Regions from separate parts of the Homo sapiens genome. Here regions 1 and 3 are each linked to region 2. The links are contacts of gene promoters, found by promoter capture Hi-C in blood cells and fetal thymus (Javierre and others, 2016). All regions are on one chromosome and are shown on one strand. Each heading gives the region's core, a stretch centred on a gene start or on the middle of the fragment in contact. The rest is flanking DNA. Distances are from core to core; before and after follow the strand shown.

Region 1 (3,327 bases), core at 1-2,500, 240 kb before region 2:
CTTCATAGTCATTATTGTTATGATAGTGATTATAAAGAATATTTATTGAATGCCTAATATTAACATAACCCAGTGTTTATAACGTAACTTAATCTTTACTCCATACATCTTATCCTCTTACAGCTCAGACAAAGTCACCCACCTAAGGATAACCTTAGGTCAACCTCAGGAAGTGGTGGGGAGACGGCTGTGCGGGGGCCTGAGCCGAGGCTTAGCGCTTCTTAAACGTCAGTGTGCACACCTGGTGAAGCTGGTTACAGTGCGGATTATGGGCTGGGCGTGGTGGCTCATGCCTGTAATCCCTGCACTTTGGGAGGATGAGGTGGGAGGGTGGCTTGGGGCCAGGAGTTTGAGACCAGTCTGAGCAACATAATGAGACCCCATCTCTACAAAAATAAAAAAAAATTAGCTGGATGTGGTGGCATGTGCCTGTAGTCCCAGCTACTCAGGAGGCTGAGGTGGGAGGATCACTTAAGCCCAGGAAGTTGAGGCTGCAGTGAGCTATGATCGTACCACTGCACTTGGTCTGAGTGACAGAGCAAGACTCTGTCTCTTAAAAAAAAAAATTGCAGATTACAGTCTGGTAAATCTGGGGTGGAATCTGAGCATCTGCATTTCTAACATACTCCCGGGCGGTGAAGCTGCTGGTGTTTGGGCCACTGTAAGGGTTCAGAGGACTTGGAGCCGGGGAGGCCCAGGTTCAAATCCTATTCTGCCCCTCACTGGCTATGTGACTTTGGACAAGTCACATAACCCTTCTGAAAGTCCAGCCTCCTTAACTGTGAAATGGGCGAGGATAATGTTGCAGGATAAGAAAGGACTGAACGGGAGGCAAAGCATCTGGTTTGAAGTGTCTGTGGCTCAGGACTCCCTGGGCGGCCCGGCTCCCATCTGGCCACACCTTTCTGGCACTGACCCCTGCCTCTCTGTTGTCCTTGAAAAGCAGAAGTCAGCCAAGGAGAAGGTTGCCCGGCAGTCAGGGGAACTCAGCTGCTCCAGGGTGTGGGGACCTTCCCTGCTGAGGCTGCAAAGTGACTCTGCCTCTGCCGGCAGGGCTGGCCTTGAGGAAACGACCTCTGACATCCCCTGAGGCAGCAAGGCCTGCTGTCCTGGAGCCTAGACTCTCACAGTGGAAGCCAGTCCAAGCCACCAGGCCTTGGACCCAGGTAGCATGGAGGAGAGCGAGGAAGCCGGAGAAGGCAGGAAGGGTGGACCAAAGAGGAACCAAAAGTCCTGGGCCGGGGGTGTGGGGAAGGAGAGGTGACTCAGAGGCTGATGCATAGTGGAAGTGGGAGGAACGGAGTAAGGACCGAGGCCAGGAAATCCTTCCTCCCCAGGGGTGCAGGGCATTCTCCCCACCCACTGACCCTAAGCTGCAGGTGAAGGACCCCACCTCTCCACCTCTCTAAGGCTCTCGGAGGCTCCCCCAAGCCCCAGCCACAAACACGGCTTCACTTGGCCTCCAGGGGCTCCTTGCAGGAGGATCTGGTTCTAATCCTGTCACTGCCACTTAATATAATCTTAGACAAGTGACAATCGCCTTGAGCCTCAGTCTTCTCATCTGTCAAATGGGGATAAAAATGATAGTATCAGGCTGGGAGCGGTGGCTCTCGTCTGTAATCCCAGCACTTTGGGAGGCTGAGGCGGGCAGATCACTTGAGGTCAGAAGTTCGAGACCAGCCTGGCCAACATGGTGAAATCCCGTCTCTACTCAAAAATACAAAAATTAGCCAGGCATGGTGGTGTGTGCTTGTAGTCCCAGCTACTTGGGAGGCTGAAGCAGGAGAATCACTTGAACCCAGGAGACGAAGGCTGCAGTGAGCCAAGATCATGCCACTGTACTTCAGCCTTGGTGGCAGAGCGAGACTCCATCTCAAAAAAAAAAAAAAAAGGAAAACAAAGACAGTATCAATCTCATTGTGCTGGTGTGAGAATTCAATTCAGTTCTCTAAATAATATGCATAGGCTCCTCCAGGAATGGCTAGAACTAGTGGCTCTGTTTAACAAGGAGGGGGCACAGAGGCAGGGGGCTGGCTACAAAGAGAACATCAGCATGGTGTCATTCATGAGAGCTTTCGGTAATCATGGCAGAAATAAAGAAAAAAACCTTCCATTGCTAGCCTTGTGGGTGCAATCCTCTCTATCCCCAAACCTCTATACATGTTTGTTCTATATAAGGCTATAAGCCTCTTGAGGGCAGGAACTTGATTCATTTAATTCTCTGGATCTTGTAGCGCAAAAACTTAATATCTGTTGGAAGAATGATCACATACGAGAACCTTGTATTTTTCAAAAACATCATCTATCATGCAAACAGCCCAGACACCATGATGGGCTCGTCACAAAGACTCAGGGTGTTTTTATACCTAATCCTCAGAACTTTACCAGGTAGGTTCTTGAGCCCCAGGGGAAACTGAGGCTCAGAGATGCTGAGTCCCTTGCCTGGAGCAACCCAGCTGGGTGGTGGCAGACGGGAATCCCCATTGTGCACCCTCCAGAGCTGTTGTTTGCTCTCCCCTTTTTTGTGCCACCTGCCTTCCCTGAAACTAGGTGATAATGAATTCATTTCTCCCTTTTTGTTATTTATCAAAGCCATATGTAGCTGTCAATCAGAGTGGCTGTTCAGCAGGAGAGAAGGAGGGCTCTAACCCTGCGTCCTGTCACTAGGGCCCAAAGCAAAGGGTTGTCGACAACCTGGCAGACCTGGAAGCTCCGCTGGTGGTTAAGTGGAGGCAGCCAGTGGGCACTGTGGAGCTGCCTCTGAGCCAGCCGCAATGACCACTGCCAGGGCCCTATGAGGGGCCCAGGAGAGGGTGTATGCTGAGCTGGGGATGGCGGTGACAGTCATTTAGTAACGACTTGCTCTGTGCCAAGCACTGGGCTAAGCGCCATACAACAACCCTGTAACGTGGGTCCCCCTGTCCCCGCTGTTCCAGCGTGAGGAACAGAAGCTCAGAAGGGCTCCACAGCCCACAGCTGTATTCAAACCCAGGGCTGCAGACTCCAGAGGCCCTGCTGACTGCGTCCAGGAAGGGCTCCTGGGAGAGGTGTGTCCCCTGGAGGTGGAGGTGTGGAGAAGAGGGCGGGAGGCTTCCAGAGCTTGTGCAGGGAAGAGCTGGCCAGAAGGAAAGGAAAGCCTGCCTCTCTGACGTAAGGTGTCCTGAGATGAAGTGGCTGGGGATGACAGTGGGGACAGGGCCTGCAAGGCTGTGCTAGGCGGGAGACAGGGATCTAGGGCATCGTCCTCAGATTCCACGGCAGGTTCAGAATTACACGGCTGCCTACCTTTCCAGCAGGTCTCAACTTACAAAACCCTCCAGAGCCCCC
Region 2 (3,286 bases), core at 289-2,788:
CCCATCTGACCTACTCCCTAGGCATGTCCAGGCACAACTATTAACTGGATTAAGCACAATAATATTTCACCTGCCAGAAGTTTATTACACATGGCCTCATTCGGTTCCCACAACCCTCCATGAAAAAGGTAGGCATTGAGCCCATTTAACAGCTGAGTACATATCCTCGGGGGATACGTTCCAAGACCCCCAGTGGATGCCTGAAACAACAGACAGCACCCGACCTTACACATAACGACGACGTTTTCTGATCTGATAACCCAGACCGCTCCTAAGTGACCAATGAGCAGGTAGTGTCGACAGCACCCATCTGCTGGACAAAGAGACGATTCACGTCTGGAGCAGGACAGAGTGGGACAGTGTGAGATTTCATCACACTACTCAGAATGGGATGCAATTTAAAACTTATGAATCATATCTTTCCGGAATTTTCCATTTAATATTTTCAGATTGTAGTTGGCTATGGGTAACTGAAACAGTGGAGAGTGAAATGATAGAAAAGGAGGAACTCTTGTAGACAATATAGGATCATAAAGGGTTAAGTCACTTGCTCAGGATCACAAAGCTGGCACGTGGTGGAACCAGAATTCTAACCCGTGGCTGTCTAGCCCCAGAGTTCACTTACTTTCTCTTTTCCTTTTTCTTCTGTCTCTGTCTCTCTCTCTCTCCTTCTTCTCTTTCTTTTTTCTTCTTTCTCTCTCTCCTTCCTTCCTTTCCATTCTTTTCTTTCCTCCCTCCCTCCTCCTTCCTTCCTTTTTTTTTTTTTTTTTTTTTGAGACAGGGTCTCACTCACTCTGTTGCCCAGGCTGGGGTGCAGTGGCACAATCTTGGCTCACTGCAGCCTTGACCTCCCAGGGTCAGGTGACCCTACCACCTCAGCCTTCCAAGTAGCTGGGACTACAGGCACGTGTCACCATGCTCCACTAATTTTGGTATTTTTTCTTTTTTGCAGAAATGGAGTTTTGCCATGTTGCCCAGGCTGGTCTTGCACTCCTGGGCTCAAGCGATCCACCTGCCTCAGCCTCCCAAAGTGCTGGGATTACAGGTGTGAGCCACTGTGCCTGGACAGAGTCCACTTTCTTTTCCATACTTCAGAAGTTTCAAACGTGGCTGGGTATGTTAATCAGCTAGAGAGCTTGTTTGAAAATCTGATTCCTGAGTCCCACTGCTGAAGTCTGACTCGGCAGGCCTGGGCTGGGGCCTGGAAATCTGCTTTTATTAAGTTCTCAGCTGATGATCTGAGCAAGGGGTTGTTGGGATGGACCACATCTGTTTCTGCTAGAAGGTCCTGTCAAGAGAGTCAGGGAACGCCCAGCAGAGCCCCAGAAACCACCTGTGGGTTCAAGGAGGAGGTTCCGCGGCAAGGACTGATTGATCAGCTGTGGTAGTTCCTGCTGTGCGGGCTTGGTTAAGCTGGAACTACTTTTCCCAGAATCCCCTTCTCTGACTGGTTCTGGGTTATAATTGGTCAAAAGAGGAATCTGTGGAAAGCTGGGAGATGGAAGTGAAGCAGCGACCATTACACTTTAGAGGTCATCATGATTGGATGAGGTGAGAGACAGCCCCGTGGGTTCCAGCACATTCGAGCCTGTCCTCCATTCTGCATCCAGCTCTTTCTCCTGACTGCTGGTCCTGTTAACCAACAGCAGCCCAGGCCCCCCCGCGGACACTTGGCTGGGGATGGACCAGACAACGGCTGGCTGTAGACTTCTCCACCAGTTTGCCCGTGTACCCAGGGCCAGGTGGCGATGCCCCTGGTCCCCGGCAACTCTTCCACCTTCCTTTCTGCCGCCCCCCCTATGAATGCATAAGAACTAATTCCTATAACAAACCCCTTATCTCATAGGTCATAGAAGTTTGGCTTCTCTCATTGACCTGGAAGGATGCCGTCATCCACTCTGACCTGCAAACCTTTTGATCTCAAACAGCGATCTTCCAGGCGTGGCCCCAAATCAACAGCATCAGCGTCACCCAGGAGCTGGTTAGAAATGCAAATCCTGGGGCCCCACTCAGACCTACTGAATCAGCAACTGGGGGTGGGGGATGTGGCGGGGGGTGGAGGAGGAGGGAGGACCCAGCAATCTATGTTTTAACAAGCCCCCCACCCCAGAGGATTCTAACACAAGCTGAAGATGGAGAACCACTCATGCAAGCATTTAGAAAACCTGCCTCTAGGGAGGCCGAGGCGGGCGGATCATGAGGTCAGGAGATCGAGACCATCCTGATTAACACGGTTAAACCCCGTCTCTACTAAAAATACAAAAAATTAGCCAGGCGTGGTGGAGGGCGCCTGTAGTCCCAGCTGCTTGGGAGGCTGAGGCAGGAGAATGGCATGAACCCGGGAGGCGGAGCTTGCAGTGAGCTGAGATCGCAACACTGCACTCCAGCCTGGGCGACAGAGGGAGACTCCGTCTCAAAAAAAGAAAACCTGCCTCCATTTCTGTTTGGGATGATGTAGTAGTTCTGGAAAAAAGACAGTGGCGATGGTCACACAGCACTGTAAATGTGCTTAATGTCCCAGAATTGTACACTTAAAAATGGTTAAAATAGGCCAGGTGTGGTGGTGACTCACGCCTATAATCCCAGCACTTTGGGAGCCTGAGGTGGGCAGATCACTTGAGCCTGGGAGTTTGATACCAGTCTGGGCAACATGGCAAAACCCCGTTTCTACCAAAAAATACAAAAATTAGCCGGGCGTGGTGGTGCGCACCTGTAATCCCAGCTACTCAGGAGGCTGAGGCAGGAGAATCGCTTGAAACTGGAAGGCGGAGGTTGCAGTGACTCCATCTCAAAAAAAAAAAAAGATAAAAAAAAACCCAGCAGTATCCCAGGCACCTAGCTTTACCTTGCCCTGCAGCAGAGGGCCGGGGGAGAGGAGGGAAAGGAGGAAGTTGGCTTGCTCATGGGTCTGTACTCCCAGGCATTCTGAGATAAAGCCCCACGACTCTCAGGTGTGTTTGGCTTGGATTTGGAATGGACTTACTAGAATGGAAAGATTTTCAAAAATAATTATGACAGTAACACCTAAAAATGTATTGAGCATGTACTGTTTTAAGTACATTTATAGTTGAATCTTCACAACATCCTAAAACTATTCTCCCCATTTCGAGAAAGTGAGCCATGGCTCAAGGTCACCCAGATCATTAGGACCATTTGAACTTAAAGCTGTTACTTTAATACAAAGTCATACATGTTTCTCTGTGGGAAACTCAGAAAGTACAGGTTAGAAAAGAGAAGACAGGGAGAAAGGGAATAAAAATTACTTGTAATCTGTTAGGAATAAACA
Region 3 (3,323 bases), core at 105-2,604, 140 kb before region 2:
GGAGAAGAAGGCAGACCTGTTCCAAGGTCAACGGGGAAGGGAAATGGGGACACAAGTAACCCAAATGCACTTCGTGGGCAGAAGAGCTCCGGAGCTGCTGTTTCTCCGTATTTCTCCCACCTAACATCAGCTCTACAGCCCCGACACACATCCACACACCCCACACACCCCACACGCACCCCCATACCACACCACACCCACACATCCACACGCCCCCTCACCCACTCACCTACACACATCCACACCCCCACACACCCATTCACCCCCACACCACACATCCATACCCCCACACACCCATACACCCCCACACACCACACTCACACACACACCTACCCATATCCACACACACCCATACACACTTACACACATCCACATCCCCACACACCCATTCACCCCCACACCACACATCCATACCCCCACACACCCACATACATCCTCACACCCACACCCACATACCCACACACCTGAAAGGGCGACAACACATGTAATCCAGGCGGTGACCCTGCTCGGGGGACGGATGCAGAGGGCTGGGCGAGGCGGGCTAACCAGCCGCAGAGGCGGAAGCGCACAATGCAAACCGGCCTCTCACTTCTCAAAACTGATTTTGTTGTTCCCATTTCGCTGATGACAAAGGGGAGGCCACATCAGTTATAACAAAAGCCCACTCTGGGCTCGGACCCTGGTCTGTGTGCCCCCGGGGCTCCTGTCCTGCCTTTCCCCAGCTCCAGTTGGGGCACTGCGGTCAGAGCCAGAGGTCACTACTGCTGCTTCATCCTTGGACCCCCAGATCCACCCTGCCTGGGTGCCCATGCAGACTTGGCGAACTCTTCAGGCACACCTGAGATGAAAGCTGTTAGGTTTTACCTTGACTCACCGAAACAGACACATCTCACAAATACTGAGAAATCCTATAGGTTCAGGATTCTAAAGTCAGAGCATTGAGGTACATTTTGCAAATAGTTATTATTATTATTATTATTATTATTATTATTATTATTATTTGAGACGGAGTTTCACTCTTGTTGCCCAGGCTGGAGTGCAATGGCGCGATCTCAGCTCACTGCAATTTCTGCCTCCCAGGTTCAAGCTATTCTCCTGCCTCAGCCTCCTGAGTAGCTGGGATTACAGGCGCCTGGCTAATTTTTGTTATTTTTAGCAGAGACAGATTTTCACCATGTTGGCCAGGCTGGCCTCAAACTCCTGATCTCGTGTGATCCACCAGCCTCGGCCTCCCAAAAGTGCTGGGATTACAGGCATTAGCCACCGTGCCTGGCCTCAAAATTACTTTTAAACAGCTCTTGACTTGCCTACCAGGTTCACTCCACACAGAATATTCTTACCCACACTAAAGTCTAAGGGAAGAAATGAAAGTCTGTCTAACTGCACTTGGGCCTGCAAACATTCTGCTTCGAAGGTGACTGTGCAAACCAGTGGTTACTGGGATGAGGGGAAGCCCACCGTGTCCTCTTTTGCATGCAGTGATTCTATTCTGCTTTAATATTAAGCCTTGCCATGGAAATAGCCAAGCTGAGAGGTGCATTTACTGCTGGAATTAACCAAACTCATTTATAATGGGCATTAGAAAATGTTTCCTGGAGTTGAAGCTACATCTTGCTTATTCTGGGGCACGTGCACGCCGATCTTTGAAAAGGTGCAAAGAATGTGGCCAGCTGTTTTAGTTTTTCTAGGTAGGCATTTCATGTTTTGCCCCCAACGCCCACCCCCCCACCACCCCGCCCCCAGCACAATGGTGTGAGAGGAAGGAATGAAATTTAAACTAAGGGCCCAGGGTGAATGAAACAAGCATATCACGTGACTTCACTTTAGCTGCTTTTCACCGGATGGCTACAAGGTGACGCAGTCATCCTTACTCACTCTAGAGCCAAGGGCTTCCAGCTGGTGGTCCTTGTCCTTGTTCTGACTTTTTAGGTGACTGACCTCTTCCTTTAGTTGTTGAACTTGCTCATCCTTTGCTAATATGTCTTTTTGCAAAGATGACACCATCCCTGTAAAAAAGAAGACTCGCAGAGGTCAAAGAGGCAGTGAGGATGACTGTCATCGCTGCCGCTGTCAACCAGTTTGTGACGAGCCTGGCACTGAGAAGGGAGGTGTCTCCAAGGATCCCAGGAGCTTGAATGGGGTTGAGACCAATATCCACTGCACATCATTTGTTCAAGGTCCCAGTGAGAAGGAGAGGTCAGTCAGTGCGTGTTGCTGGAGACAGGAAACATCTGTCGGGGTGCTGTGGGCATCGGCCCTGCCTGGGAACAAAGGCTCAGCAGAGAGAGGGACCAGGAGGGGCCACGACATGGGCCTGTGGCAGCAAGGGACGTGTTGATTCACACTCATCTGAGTTTGGAAACCGTCTCTAGCACTTACTAGCTCAGTCGTCTTTTTTCTTGAGACAGGGTCTTACTCTGTCACCCAGGCTGGAGTACAGTGGCACGATCATGGTTCACTACAGCCTCGACCTCCTGGACTCAGGCGATCCTCCTGCCTTGGCCTCCCAAGTAGCTAGGACTACAGGTACGTGCCACTATGCCTGGCTAATTTTTGTATTTTTTGTAGACATGGAGTTTTGCCCATGTTGCCCAGGCGGGTCTCAAACTCCCAGGCTGAAGCAATCCACCAGCCTCTGTCTCCCAAAGTGCTGGGATTACAGATGTGAGCCACAATGCCCAGCCTAGCTTAGTGGTCTGAAGAAGTTATTTAACCTCTCATTGTATCTACAGAGTTGTATAAAGAACATAGTAGAGTGGCTAACACATAGTGTTTATTCCCTGCCACCCACAAGTATATGTGGTAGCCAGCTTGCAAAATGGCCCCCATGATCCCTGCCTGTTAGAATACCTGGCCTCGTGTAGCCCCCTCCCACCTGAATAGGGCTGACGTGTGTAACTCATATGGCACTGTGGAAGTGGTGAATGTGACTTCCCAGGGTGAATCATCAAAGATGTTGTGGTTTCTTCTTTGCTCTCCTTGGATCACTCAGTCTGGGGAAAGCCAACCGCCATGTTGTGAGGACACTCAAGCAGCCCTAGGGAAGGACACACATGGTGAGGAACTGAGGCCTCCAGCCAACAGCCATGTGAGCGAGTCATTCCAGAAGGGGATCCTCGAGCCCTAGTCGGGCTTTAGATGACATGACAGCAGTAGCTCCTGCAACCTCGTGAGAGACCCTGAGCCAGACTAAGTCACTCCCAAGTTCCTGAACCACAGAAACCGGGTAAGATAAACATATTTGTTGCTTTTTTGGGATAACTTATGTGACAGCAGATAGTCAATATATTATTGTATTATCACATTGAGAAAAAGTGAGAAGA

The links. Contacts are between HindIII fragments. The CHiCAGO score rates a contact against its expected background, and 5 or more counts as called.
Region 1: a contact is called between a fragment that was not itself captured here and the fragment with the promoter of TMEM51-AS2 in region 2, in 1 of 17 cell types (endothelial precursors). The highest score is 5.1, in endothelial precursors.
Region 3: a fragment that was not itself captured here is called in contact with the fragment with the promoter of TMEM51-AS2 in region 2 in 4 of 17 cell types (monocytes, M1 macrophages, M0 macrophages and 1 more); the score reaches 8.0 in monocytes.

Annotation. Positions count from the first base shown.
Region 1 is chr1:15,414,055-15,417,381 of GRCh38, reverse strand. All of the region lies in intron 1 of EFHD2 (EF-hand domain family member D2), which reads right to left. Among named protein-coding and RNA genes, the nearest start is that of EFHD2-AS1, 3.4 kb to the right of the region's middle. RefSeq lists a silencer at 75-369 and enhancers at 738-827, 576-1,075. The HindIII fragment of the contact is 6,712 bases long and covers 1-3,327 here.
Region 2 is chr1:15,169,876-15,173,161 of GRCh38, reverse strand. TMEM51-AS2 (TMEM51 antisense RNA 2) reads left to right here and starts at 1,538. Exons shown (of 3, transcript NR_167931.1): 1 at 1,538-1,551; 2 at 1,847-1,981. The region is part of intron 1 of TMEM51 (transmembrane protein 51); the gene reads right to left. RefSeq lists an enhancer at 849-1,018. The HindIII fragment of the contact is 7,186 bases long and covers 1-3,286 here.
Region 3 is chr1:15,311,740-15,315,062 of GRCh38, reverse strand. FHAD1 (forkhead associated phosphopeptide binding domain 1) reads right to left here. Exons shown (of 34, transcript NM_001391957.1): 8 at 1,876-2,006. Among named protein-coding and RNA genes, the nearest start is that of FHAD1-AS1, 30 kb to the left of the region's middle. The HindIII fragment of the contact is 8,292 bases long and covers 1-3,323 here.